3 separate regions of the Homo sapiens genome follow, and regions 1 and 3 are each linked to region 2. Evidence: promoter capture Hi-C in 16 types of primary human blood cells and fetal thymus (Javierre and others, 2016). All regions are on one chromosome and are shown on one strand. The core of a region is centred on a gene start or on the middle of the fragment in contact, and the rest is flanking DNA. Distances in the headings are between cores, read along the strand shown. Region 1 has its middle 82 kb from the start of ARID1B. Region 2 holds the start of SCAF8 (SR-related CTD associated factor 8). Region 3 overlaps FBXO5 (F-box protein 5).

The links. The method cuts DNA at HindIII sites, captures the fragments that hold promoters and counts their contacts. A CHiCAGO score of 5 or more calls a contact.
Region 1: a fragment that was not itself captured here is called in contact with the fragment with the promoter of SCAF8 in region 2 in 1 of 17 cell types (fetal thymus); the score reaches 5.2 in fetal thymus.
Region 3: a contact is called between a fragment that was not itself captured here and the fragment with the promoter of SCAF8 in region 2, in 1 of 17 cell types (neutrophils). The highest score is 5.3, in neutrophils.

What each region holds. Positions count from the first base shown.
Region 1 is chr6:156,693,612-156,697,694 of GRCh38, forward strand. No RefSeq gene overlaps it. Among named protein-coding and RNA genes, the nearest start is that of ARID1B, 82 kb to the right of the region's middle. RefSeq lists an enhancer at 3,451-3,500. The HindIII fragment of the contact is 3,647 bases long and covers 606-4,083 here.
Region 2 is chr6:154,730,918-154,734,819 of GRCh38, forward strand. SCAF8 (SR-related CTD associated factor 8) reads left to right here and starts at 2,499. Exons shown (of 20, transcript NM_014892.5): 1 at 2,499-3,013. The coding sequence starts at 2,984. RefSeq lists silencers at 2,132-2,371, 2,402-2,521, 2,672-3,271 and an enhancer at 2,532-3,035. The HindIII fragment of the contact is 14,602 bases long and covers 301-3,902 here.
Region 3 is chr6:152,975,500-152,979,134 of GRCh38, forward strand. FBXO5 (F-box protein 5) reads right to left here. Exons shown (of 5, transcript NM_012177.5): 2 at 1-122. Among named protein-coding and RNA genes, the nearest start is that of FBXO5, 5.7 kb to the right of the region's middle. The HindIII fragment of the contact is 9,862 bases long and covers 1-3,635 here.

The DNA of each region.
Region 1 (4,083 bases), core at 1,179-3,678, 2.0 Mb after region 2:
TAAAATGTCAACATTTACAATATGCTAGAATTCACATGTTTATAACTATTCAAATGTATGATAAAATTATAGGTATCGATTTAAAAATATGCAAAGAAGAGCATTGTTTTCTAAACTATTTTAGGGTTCTTGAGCAAAAACTTTAAAGACTAATTCAGCATACAGTGACAAATTTTGTATTGTTCTTTAGTTGTCTGAGTGCCTCGGGGTATGTTAATCCAGGGAGATTAACTGAGTTTTGTCTTTTTTTTTTTTTTTTTTTTTTGAGACAGAGTCTCACTCTGTAGCCCAAGCTGGAGTGCAGTGGCATGATCTTGGCTCACAGCAACCTCCACCTCCAGGGCTCAAGCGATTCTTGTGCCTCATGTAGCTGGGACTACAGGCGCGTGGCACCACGCCCAGCTCATTTTTTGTATTTTAGTAGAGACAGGGTTTCACCATGTTGCCTAGGGTGGTCTTGAACTCCTGAGCTCAGGCGATCTGCCCGCCTCAGTCTCCCAAAGTGCTGGGAATACAGGCGTGAGCCACCTCGCTCAGTGAGCTTTTGTCTTGACTAAGCATTGTCACCATTTTCACCCACAAGTGGAATGATGGGATTGGATGCAAGCTTGAAATCTTTGATTCCCTTCAGAGAGGGAGCATGGTGGCAATGAAAAGTACATGGTCTCAAAACCACAGTGAGATACTACTTCACACCCATTGGGATGGCTATTATTAGAGAGAGAGAGAAGAAAATAAGTGTTGGCACAAATGTGGAAAACTGGAACCCTGGTTCCAGTCCCTGGTGCAATACTGGTGGAAATGGAAAACAGTGTACCCACCGGGGAAAGCACTATGATGATTCCTCAAAAAACTGAAAGTAGCACTACCATAGGATCCAGCAATCCCACTTCTGGGTATATATACCCCAAATAATTGAAAGCAGGGCCATGAAGAGATATTTGTACACCCATGTTGATAGCAACATTATTCACAATAGCCAAAAGGGGGAAACAACCCATATGCCCATGGCAGATGAATAAACAGATAAATGGTGGAATATCCATACAATGGAATATGATTCAGCCTTAAAGAGGAATGAAATTCGCATACATGCTACAATATGGATGAGCCTTGAAGGCAATATGCTAAGTGAAATAAGCCAGCCACAGAAGGACAAATACTGTGGGATGTCACTTATATCTAGAATAGTCAAACTCATAAAGACAGAAAGTAGAGTGCTGGTTACCAGGGACTAGGGAGATGGGAGGAGAATGAGAAGTTATTATTTTACAGATTCAGAGTTTCAGTTATGCAAGATGAAAAAGTTTTGGAGATGAAACCAAGTGAGGTAGCATGCATCTGTAGTCCCACCCACTCAAGAGGCTGAGGCAGGAGGATTGCTTGAGCCCAAGAGTCTGAGACCAGTCTGGGCAACATAGTCAGACCCTGTCTACACAAAAAATAAAAATTAGTTGCGTGTGGTGGTGCACTCCAGTAATCCTCACTACTCAGGAGGCTGAGGCAGGAGGATGACTTGATCTCAGGAGTTCGAGGCTAGCCTGGACAACATGGCAAGACTCCATATATTTAAAAACAAAATGTTCTGGAGGATAGTGGGGTGGTTGCACAACAATGTGAATGTACTTAATGCTACCAACTTTATACTGAAATATGGTTAAGAGGGTAAATTTCACTTATGTATATTTTATCACAATTTTTTAAAGGATATGGTCTTTGCATTTGGAGAGATCTAGTCTCAAATCCAACATCTCCTAGGTATGACCTTGAACAGGTTGCCTAAACTCCATGAGCCTCAGTTTCCTCCTGTCTAATGGGAATAAAAACACCTAACTTAGAGGATTTTTATAAGAATGAAAACATAAACAGATCTGTAGCGGATTCTGTGGAGAGCCACCCTTCAGGACTCAGGTGCCACTGCCCTAGCTGCTGGGGGTGTTGACTGCTGGCGGCCTACAGCTGTGTCGCTCTCCAGGCATCCGCTCCCACAGGGAGCTGCCTAGCCCAAGTCTATAACCCCTCTTGGGAGACAGCAACTGGTTGATGCTGGTTTATAAGGTCCAGCCCTCTTGCCTCAACTGGAGGAAACTCTGAAGGGTCCTCCCAACCCCACAGCTTTGGCGGGATCAGTTGGGGGTCTGTGTTGAGATACCCCACGTTCTCCCTCTTCCCAGCCCTGCTTCTCTCTTGTTCTTCTGCTGGTGGGAGAACAGGGCTTCTGCCTGTGCATTGCCAGCTCAGAGTCTGTTTCCAGGTAACCCTCTCCTGCTTCAAAATGTTCCAAGAGCTGCCCGTTGGCCTCAGAATGAAACCTGCAATGATTGTCATTTCCTGCAAGACCTGACACAGCAGAGTCACTTACTGTCTGTCCTGTTTCTTCTCCTGCCCCTCCTCCTGCCTCACCCCATTCCAGCCGCCCTGGTCTCAGGAATCCCCACAGCGCCTCTATACTTGCTGTTCTCTCTGCCTGGACCCTCGGCCTCTGGGGTTCACTTCATTCTTCCAGCCCACCCCGTCAGAGAGGCCTGTCTAAAATATCCCCTAGCTGGGCCCCAATGCCCCTCTATCCCTGTACCCTACTTCTTTTTCTTTTTCTTTTCTTTTGTCTTTTTCTTTTTCTTTTTTTTTTTTTTTTTTCTTTTGAGACGGAGTCTCGCTCTGTCACCAGGCTGGAGTGCAGTGGTGCGATCTCGGCTCACTTGAACCACCTCCCAGGTTCAAGCTATTCTCGTGCCTCAACCTCCCGAGTAGCTGGGATTACAGGCACACGCCACCACGCTTGGCTAATTTTTTTTTTATTTTTTATTTTTATTTTTTTTTTTAGTGGAGACCAGGTTTCACCACGTTGGCCAGGATGGTCTCAATTTCCCGACCTCGTGATCCGCCCACCTCGGTCTCCCAAAGTGCGGGGATTACAGGCATGAGCCACTGCCCCTGGCTCTTTATAGCATTGATCATTCCCTGAAATGATCGTGCATACTCATTTGCTTATAAGTACTAGAATGTTTCCCAAAGGCAGGGACTTGCTCTGCCTTCTGCCCTATGGTTCTCCCAGCAACTAGAATCCCTGGCACATACTAGGCACTCCAGAAACATTTGTGGAAAGAATTAATGAATTAGAGCTAATGCACACTGAGCATATAACTCAGTGTATACCATATGTCAGGGCCTCACAGATAGTACATTATTATTTTATTATATTTCTTGTCTGTCCAATTCAGACAGAGAATGTCAGACAAGGTCCTTTTTTTGTATCCCTTTCTATAGCACCAGGCACAGAAGCCCTCCATAAATACTTCTTAACTAGACTTAATATGTTCTAAAGCCAATGGTGAGATAGAACTGAGATTATTTTTTTCGTGGCTGGCTATCAGTTCTATTTCATTTGAATGGCCAAGATTCTCTCACAGCACATCAGGTCTCTATTAAAATTAATTATGATCAGACTCTATCCATCCATCACTTAGGGAGAAAAGATGACAGAGGTGTCCCTCCAAAGTCATCCTGGCCACTCCTGGAGGTGGAAGATTGCTCTGGGGCCCAATGTGACGTGTCTTCACTCTAATCATCAAATATTTTTAAATATTACTCAATAATCTCTAAGAAACTACAAAAAGGGAGGTCATCAATGTGAGTTCTGCCCCCAAAATCACTTAAAGTCCAAACTTGGCAGAGAAGAGAGGCCCCATCACTCTGCACCTGTTCCCTAGCCAGTTCTCACGGCCCAGGGCAATTTCCCCTTTCACTTCCCCTCAAGGGGAATGTACCGCCAAGCACTCCTACCTGGTTTGACATCCCATGTTCATGGCTGGATAATGACAGAGCCCTTCATGAATTCTATGGCATGCAGTATCTTCTGCTCTGCCATGTTCAGGGAGGAGAGAATACACATGCACAGCTGAAATCCCCTAGACAGTTACCATGTATCTATCTCCGTTCAGTGAAACAAGCCTGCAGAATGCTGTGAGCATTCTTTGTTCTTCTTCCTTTTTTGCAGATGTAAGAAAACCTAAGAAAGGGAAGCCATGTCCCTACCAGTAGGAACGCTTTCAAAGGAAGGGAAGGATGTGACAGCTGGGTGCC
Region 2 (3,902 bases), core at 1,249-3,748:
CAACATGGTGAAACCCCATCTCTACTAAAAATACAAAAATTAGCTGGGTGTGGTGGCACGTGCCTGTAATCCCCGCTACTCAGGAGGCTGAGGCACGAGAATCGCTTGAACCCAGAAGGTGGAGGTTGCAGTGAGCCGAGATCGTGCCACTGCACTCCAGCCTGGCTACAGAGCGAGACTCCGTCCAGCCCCGCCCCAACACCCCGCAAAAAAAAAGATTGTGTTTAGGCTGCTCTCTGTATCTTCCCCCTCTGCTTACCCTGATCAAACTATGCCCTCTGTTACCATTCTGAATGCGGAAGCTTTATTAAATCAAATTGTGAAGCATGTTAACCACTGATTTTATCCTTTAGCTTGTATTGCATTTTAATTTCTCAGGCCTAAGTAATTCCATCAACACTCATTTCATGTATGACCTAATAAATAATCCCTCACAGGCCAAAGCAGCGCCTTTTTTTTCCGTTCTTTTCTTTTTTGTTTCTCTTTTTGAGACAGAGCTTCACTCTTGTTGCCCCGGCTGGAGTGCAGTCACGCGATCTCGGCACGCTGCAACCTCCGCCTCCCGGGTTCAAGCGAATCTCCTGCCTCGGCCTCCCGAGTAGCTGGGACTACAAGGGCGTGCCACCACGCCTGGCTACTTTTTTTGTATTTTTAGTACAGACGGGATTTCACCATGTTGGCCAGGCTGGTCTCGAACTCCTAACCTCAGGTGATCCACCCGCCTCGGTCTCCCAAAGTGCTCGGATTACAGGCGAGAGCCACCACACCCGGCCTCAAAGCAGTGACTTCTGATTGTGAGAACCTGGCATGCACAGAACTGAGTGCAGTACTTTCTCAAGCCACAGTAAATGCTCCTTTAGATGGAGTGATTAGGGGACCTCTTTCAGGAAGATTGAAGGAGGAGGAGTCAGCTATGGAAAGGACAAGAGCAACAGCACCCTGTGTGAAGAGACACAATTGTCCTACCTATGAAAACACTGCTTCTTGTCAAGTAACAGAAAGGCCAGTGTGGCAGGAGGAGAGTCAGGGAGCAAGGGAAGGTGGTGTGAGCTGCGGCAGGCTGGGCTGGGCCTTCAGGCCATGGTGAGAAGTTATGATGGTATCAAATGGGCAATGAGAAAGTATTTAAGGGATTTAAGTAAGGGAGTGACCTGATCTGATTTATCTAAGAAAAACATCCCTCGGCTACTGTCTGGAAATGAACTGTAGGAAGACAAGCAAGGGACCAGTTAGGAGGCTACTGCAAGTGTCAGTAAAAGATCATGGCTAGGCCTGAAGATGGGAGACGGTGGAGAAATCTGTGACAGAATTTGAGATTTTGAAAGTAAATATAAAAGCACTTGGTGAGTTATCCCTGTTACCTTCTCAGTAGCCAGGCCCTATACTAAAGCTGCCAATGAAGTAGAATGAAGGCTCTGAAACCTCAAGAAGGGCCTTACTTTCCCAGTTTCACGGGGCTCTGCGCACAGCTCTTAGGAACTACCTTGATTCCAAAACTCTCCAAAAGTACGATCCTGCCCTTATGTTCCTCTCTCCCTTTGAGTGAATTTGGGAATGATTGTTGAAAAATGACTTTCAACAAGAGGACAGCAGTGTTCGGGGTTCCACGATACATCCCTATCTTTTAACATCGATAAGTATTTTTAAATTGGTACCTTATTTTGCGCTGCACGAGAGAGAAGGCTTTTTACTAGCAGCATCTCCTAATCCATCTAAGAAATACTGTATTTACCTTTACTCCAAGTATCCTAGGGCAAAATTCCTTTAGAACAATTCATCTTCCGAAACAGACGGGTTCCCTTTTCACCTATTCAAGTGTTGTGCATTCTAGGGTCCCCTTCCCGCCTTGCAGACAAATGCGCTCATTGTGCCACTCCAGTCCCTGGATCCTATGCAGCGGGCATTTCCTGCAAGGAGCTGCTGCATGCCTGTTTCCCTCGCCGCCTGCCCCAACCCGAATCCAAGGCTTTGGTTTCTAATGTTCCCTCCCTGTGCAGTTAAAACAATTGAGTTCAGTTACTAAATAGATGACCAGGAACTTTTTCTTGGCGAAGGCTGCGGATGTTTAGGGCACTGTCCAGTAAAGTTGTGAAAAGCAACTAAACCCTGCCGCTTGTGCAAAAGGACCAATCCACCGGGAAACAAGGGAAACGCGCACATTTCCTCAACTTGCCGCTTCTTGGGCACGTTTAGGCTCTTATTAGAGCCGCGCTTTGGAGTTGCCTCCTCCTGCTGTACAAACCCGCCGCGGCGTTCCCCCGGATGCCGCAGCGCTCACTCCCGCGTCCGCGGGGCGCGGGGAGGGGGCGAGGCGCGGGCGGCCCCGGAGCCAAGGCGAGGGCAGCGGAGCCCAGCCGGGCCTACGGGCGGCGACGCTCTGGCCCCAGCGCGCTCGATGGTTTCCGCGCGGCCGCCGGGGCTCGCACGGTCCAGTCGCCAGGGGGCGCGCTAGCCGGCGCCGCGGATCCCCGAACTGCGCGGCCCGACTCGAGTCCGCCATATTGGATGCCGCAGCCGCTGCTGCCAGCGCTTCCTCCTCTGTCTTCGCCGAGCGGGGCTGGTTCCTGCGGCCCGAGCGGCGGGGAGGTGAAACAGGAGCCCGTCGGAGGAAGGGGCAGAAGGGAGTGGAGAGTGTAGGGGAAGGGGCTAGAGGGAGGGGGACCGAAACGGAGCGGGGCAGAGAAGAGAAGGCGCCGCGGCCCAGCCCCTCCCCCGCCCGCCGCCGACCCGCCCCGGCAGCGCCTCTGTTCCCTAGAACGGCGCTCCCCCCGCCCTAGCGGCCATGCCGGTGCCGCTCTGCCGCTGAGGGAGCCCTTCCCCGCCAGCGCGTGCCCTTCCACTCCGCCCCGAGGTCGCAGCGGCCCGCTCTCCCGCCAGCGCCCCCTCCTCGCGGCCACGCAGCAGCCCGCGTCTCGCTCTCCCCACCCAGTGCAGTGGCCGCCGCCTCTTCCGCCGCCGGGCTCGGGGCCTCCGCAGCGACAACATGGAGGCCGTGAAGACCTTCAATAGCGAGGTTGGTATGGCAGCCGGGTTCCCCTGCTCCTGCCCGCACCGCCCCCACCCCTGGTCGAGGCCGGGGCCCGGAGGGTGGGCGCGGGCCTGCGGGTTTTTTAAGGGTGGGGTGAGCGGTGGCCTAGCAGTGCCCGTGGGGGAGGGGTGTTTCTCCTCTGGGTGCCCCTCCCCCGGGTCCGGGAGGAGGGTTGGGGGAGGGCCGCCCTGGGGCGGAGGGAGGTTCTGGCGTCTCCGGCGTCCTATGGAATGGCTGCGAGCTCGGAGGGAAAGACCCGGTTGGGCCCTCACCCGGAGACTCCCGACAGGTCCCTCGAGGTCAGTTCCGCCGAGGCCTGGCCCGCCCACCTCCTTCCTGGGCCTTTGAGGATTTAAGTGGACGCTGGACATGACTCTCCAGACCTTCCCGGGTCCTCACTGAGGCTAACACCGATTGGGGGCGGTGGGGGAAATGAACCTACGGGGTGTTGATCTGTGGTCACGTTACACGTAGTGTTTATAATTGAGGCATTGTTGACTAGGTAATTTGCCAGCTAGGGACTTGAGCTAATTGGATGGTTGGTAGGCAGGCAAAGGTTATTCTGCAATATCTTTTATTTTTACTCGCTCCTCTTCTAATCCATCACGACATAAAGACAAATGGTAGGGAGAGATCTGTGCATCGAGAGATGGAAGATTATGGGGGAAACATTTCTCGCTGGTTCATTCACGTGTCAAACAAGATTTTAAAAAGCAGATTCCATTTTCACTGTGTAGTTGAATTTACTAGTCTGGAAGAAGACAGGTTTTGATGTATTCAATTTCTTTTTAAACTCCGACTTCAATAGGCCTTAATGTAAACATCAAACATAGCAAGTACACATCTGCACAGTCAGCATTAGTATCCCTACCCG
Region 3 (3,635 bases), core at 10-2,509, 1.8 Mb before region 2:
GGTGTAGGAAACTAGTCTTCCAATGTCATCAGGTTTTACCAGTTTAAGTCCGGAATGAACATGGTTACAATTAAAATCACACTTCATTTTGACAGAAAGGGTAGAACTTTCTTCTTTACAACCTATAAAAAGAACATAACATTTACATCTTAATGGCAAAATTTCCACACATCCCTACTTCTTAAATTGGGATATACAAAGATTACTTTGCAATCTCTCAGCATTAGGTATTGTCTACATGTACTTGCTTACATAGCTGTGATGTTATTCAAGTTTAATTATTGATATGACAATAATATGTGAAAATATTACTTAAATCTTATAAGTACATACATATTATATTATTCTTGAGAAGGCACTTCAGAACAGACTGCTTTTGGATCTGCCTGGCTGTAACACCTGACTGTTGTCTATAACTGATTGAGTAAAAAATAGTGGAAAAAGGGGCTATATAATAAACATCTGTGTTTATGGAACAAATGAAGAAATGTGATGTATCAAAAGAGTAGGCGCTATGGTCAAAGTTATCCTTAAAGTAACCACAAATACTTTTAGATTCAGTGTTTATTCCTTGGACTTGAAATGACATTATGGTTCTCTTTGACGTAAGCACAACCCAAGCCACTGACAGCAAAAGTGGTTAAGATTAGTACAGGAGGACAAGGTATAAGGGTGGGAATAATCTTGATAAAAATAATAAAAATTTTGTGTATTATTTCACTATTAACAATGATTGCAAGCCTTAAAATAACTATTCAAGAAATCTATAGGTAGCTTGGAGAAAAGAACTAATAACACATTTAAACATCTATAAATTAAAGTCTACCTGAATTCCCACAGCTCTTATCTCCAAGTTTTATTCTGATGGGTGCTCCTGGTGACCTTCTAATATATTCAAAGCGTTTGTCTACCTTACTGGATAGTAAACTCGAGTACCGGGACATCTCCCTGTACCTTGTCTAATATGTGCTGGAAACTGCTCTTTAATCACTGAACAAAGACATTCCACGACTAATTTACCAAAGAACCGTAAGTATGAATAGTTCTGCTATCAATCAAAAGTAAGTGTTGGTAAATAAGAATGACACTCTAATCAATTAACCAGATTTAAGAATATGAGTGATAGGGCAGCAGGTGTAAATTACTGTTCAATTGCTTTAAATAACTTAAGATAAACTTGCTATTAATGATAAATAGAAAAAAGGGAAAGACTTGTTCAGGGTTTTATTACCACCCTGCTCCAACCCCCGGGATCTAAGAAATCAGTTAAGACACAATGGAGCAGGCAGCATCTTAAGATAGCTTTAAAGCAAGATTTCACCATCCCTGTGCTACAGACATTTTGCAGTGAATACCTCTTTGTTCTCAGGGACTGTCCTGTGCATTGTAGGATGTTAAGCAGCCTTTACCCATTAGACACCAGTGGCAGCCCCCACTCCCAAGATGCAATGTCTCCAGTTACCAGTTATTGCCAAATACTGGGCAGGGAAAAAGGCCAGATGCAAAATTTCCTCTATTCTTCAGTTGAGAACCACAACTCTAAAAAATGATTAGGATTTTGTCAGACAACAGTGGCCTGGGAAGGGCATTCACAATTTGAGCAACGGCACAATGCTGGGAAGGAATATGGTAGATGGGTTCAGAAAACTGTTTAGCATTGTTGAAGGCAGAGAGTAAGAGTAGGCAAACAATGGGGACATGAGCTAAGAAAGCCTGAATCTTAAATGCCAGGTTAAAATGTGCCCCATCTACCATCCCCACACAAGCCAATCATATATAGCTAACAATTTATCCTGTAAGTAAATGTATACAGCATCAGTATGTTTAGTCTGCACTAAATATTGGTAATGCGTTCATATAAAACTTAACCATTTTTTACATAGAGCAAAACTTTTTAACTCAAAGTAGAAATGGATACCTTCATAGAAAGTAACTTGTAGAGAGAAACTGCTTGTAAATTCCCAATGTTAATACAGTGAAAGACACATAGTATGTGCTCCAGGATCCTACTAAACCTAAAATTAAGGGTTCAGCTGCATAAAAAGCAAAGAATATACAAATTCTAGCTCCCTAATTAACCCTAAACCTAGAACAAATGATTCTGAGTGGTTTAGTTTTATTCAGAGGAAAAGTAAAAAATGCCAAGAGATTGCCTCTATTTTTGCCTCAAATCAACTAAAGAATTAGGTTTGATTTATATATGACCACAATTTACATGACAGGATAAAAAAGCAGAAGCCACTTATGAAGGGCACACTCTGCTTTGTTTAGCTGCCTAAACCAAAAAGGCCTGAAAATACTTCAGGAATTCAAAGTCATTCTCTTTCTGCTGTCTTTAGAACAGTTACTGGGGGGTTGTCCTATAGAACCTCTTTCATTCAACACTGTTCTTTGAATATGGACAGTTCCTTAAAATTAGAGCTAATAATGATGCAAATCCTTTATATTTGTTTAGAAGTTTGCAATTTCCAATGCTTACAAACCTTTTGAGGTAGGATGGGGAATTGTTATTTTTACAATTGAGCACACTGAAGTGTAGCTTAGTTTGCCCAATACAGGCAGTTAATTAAATGAGCCAGATTTCTCTTCCTCATTATAATGAGGTGCTCTGGAAAAACAGATCTTACAAATAACATTCATACTGTTTATAAAAATGATAGAAAAGTCAGAATTTATGTTGCAAGCGCACTTAAGGTACTAAAGAAGAAAATGTGTACGTTTCTTTTCTCATGTGAGCTGGCCCTTTTCCAGTCCTTAGTAACAATGACCTTTCCATCCCAGGGGCTTTGTACATCATGCCTTTCCCTGCTTAGAATCTTTTCCACTTCCTTTGCTTATTTAGCTTCTAATCCATTAATCATGGAGAGCTTCATTTTTTGGGGGGGGGGGGGGGGCGGGGGACTTCTCAGACCTCATCAAACTCTACTCTAAAGCACTACCAAATTGAAATTTTAAAAAGTACTTTAATTTCCTTAAAGGCCAGACATAACTGTTACTGCTTATGACAAAATCCAAGCAAATGGCAGTGCCTGACACAATGAAGACATATGATATAAAAATGTGTTTCCCATTTTTTTTTGTTAGCTAATACCAACATTAGAATCTGTACTCTTCCTCACGAAATTAGCACTTAAGGAGTTAAAATGACTACCACGTTCCTCTTGCAACAACAGTATTTTCACATGGATAATTAGATTTAGTATTTAGGTAAGGTGCAGTGGCTCATGCCTATAATCCCAACACTTTGGGAGGCTGAGGTTGGGGGACTGCTTGAGCTCAGGAGTTCAGACCAGTCTGGGCAACATAAAGAGACTCCATCTCTACAACAATTAAAAAAAGAAACTAGCTGGGCATGGTGGCATGTGCCTTTGGTACCAACTACTAGGGAGGCTGAGGCGGGAGAATTGCTTGAGCCCGGGAGGTTGAGGCTGCAGGGAGTTGTGATCATACCACTGCATTCCAGCCTGGAAGACAGAGGGAAACCCTGTCTTAAAAAAAAAGAAAAAAGAAAAAAAAAGGTTTAGTATTTTAAAAGAATTTTAATAAACTTATTTGAATTCACAGAAAAGCTGCAAGGATAGTGCAGAATTCCTGTACACCCATTGCTTAACTTATATTACTAACAGTAATGCATG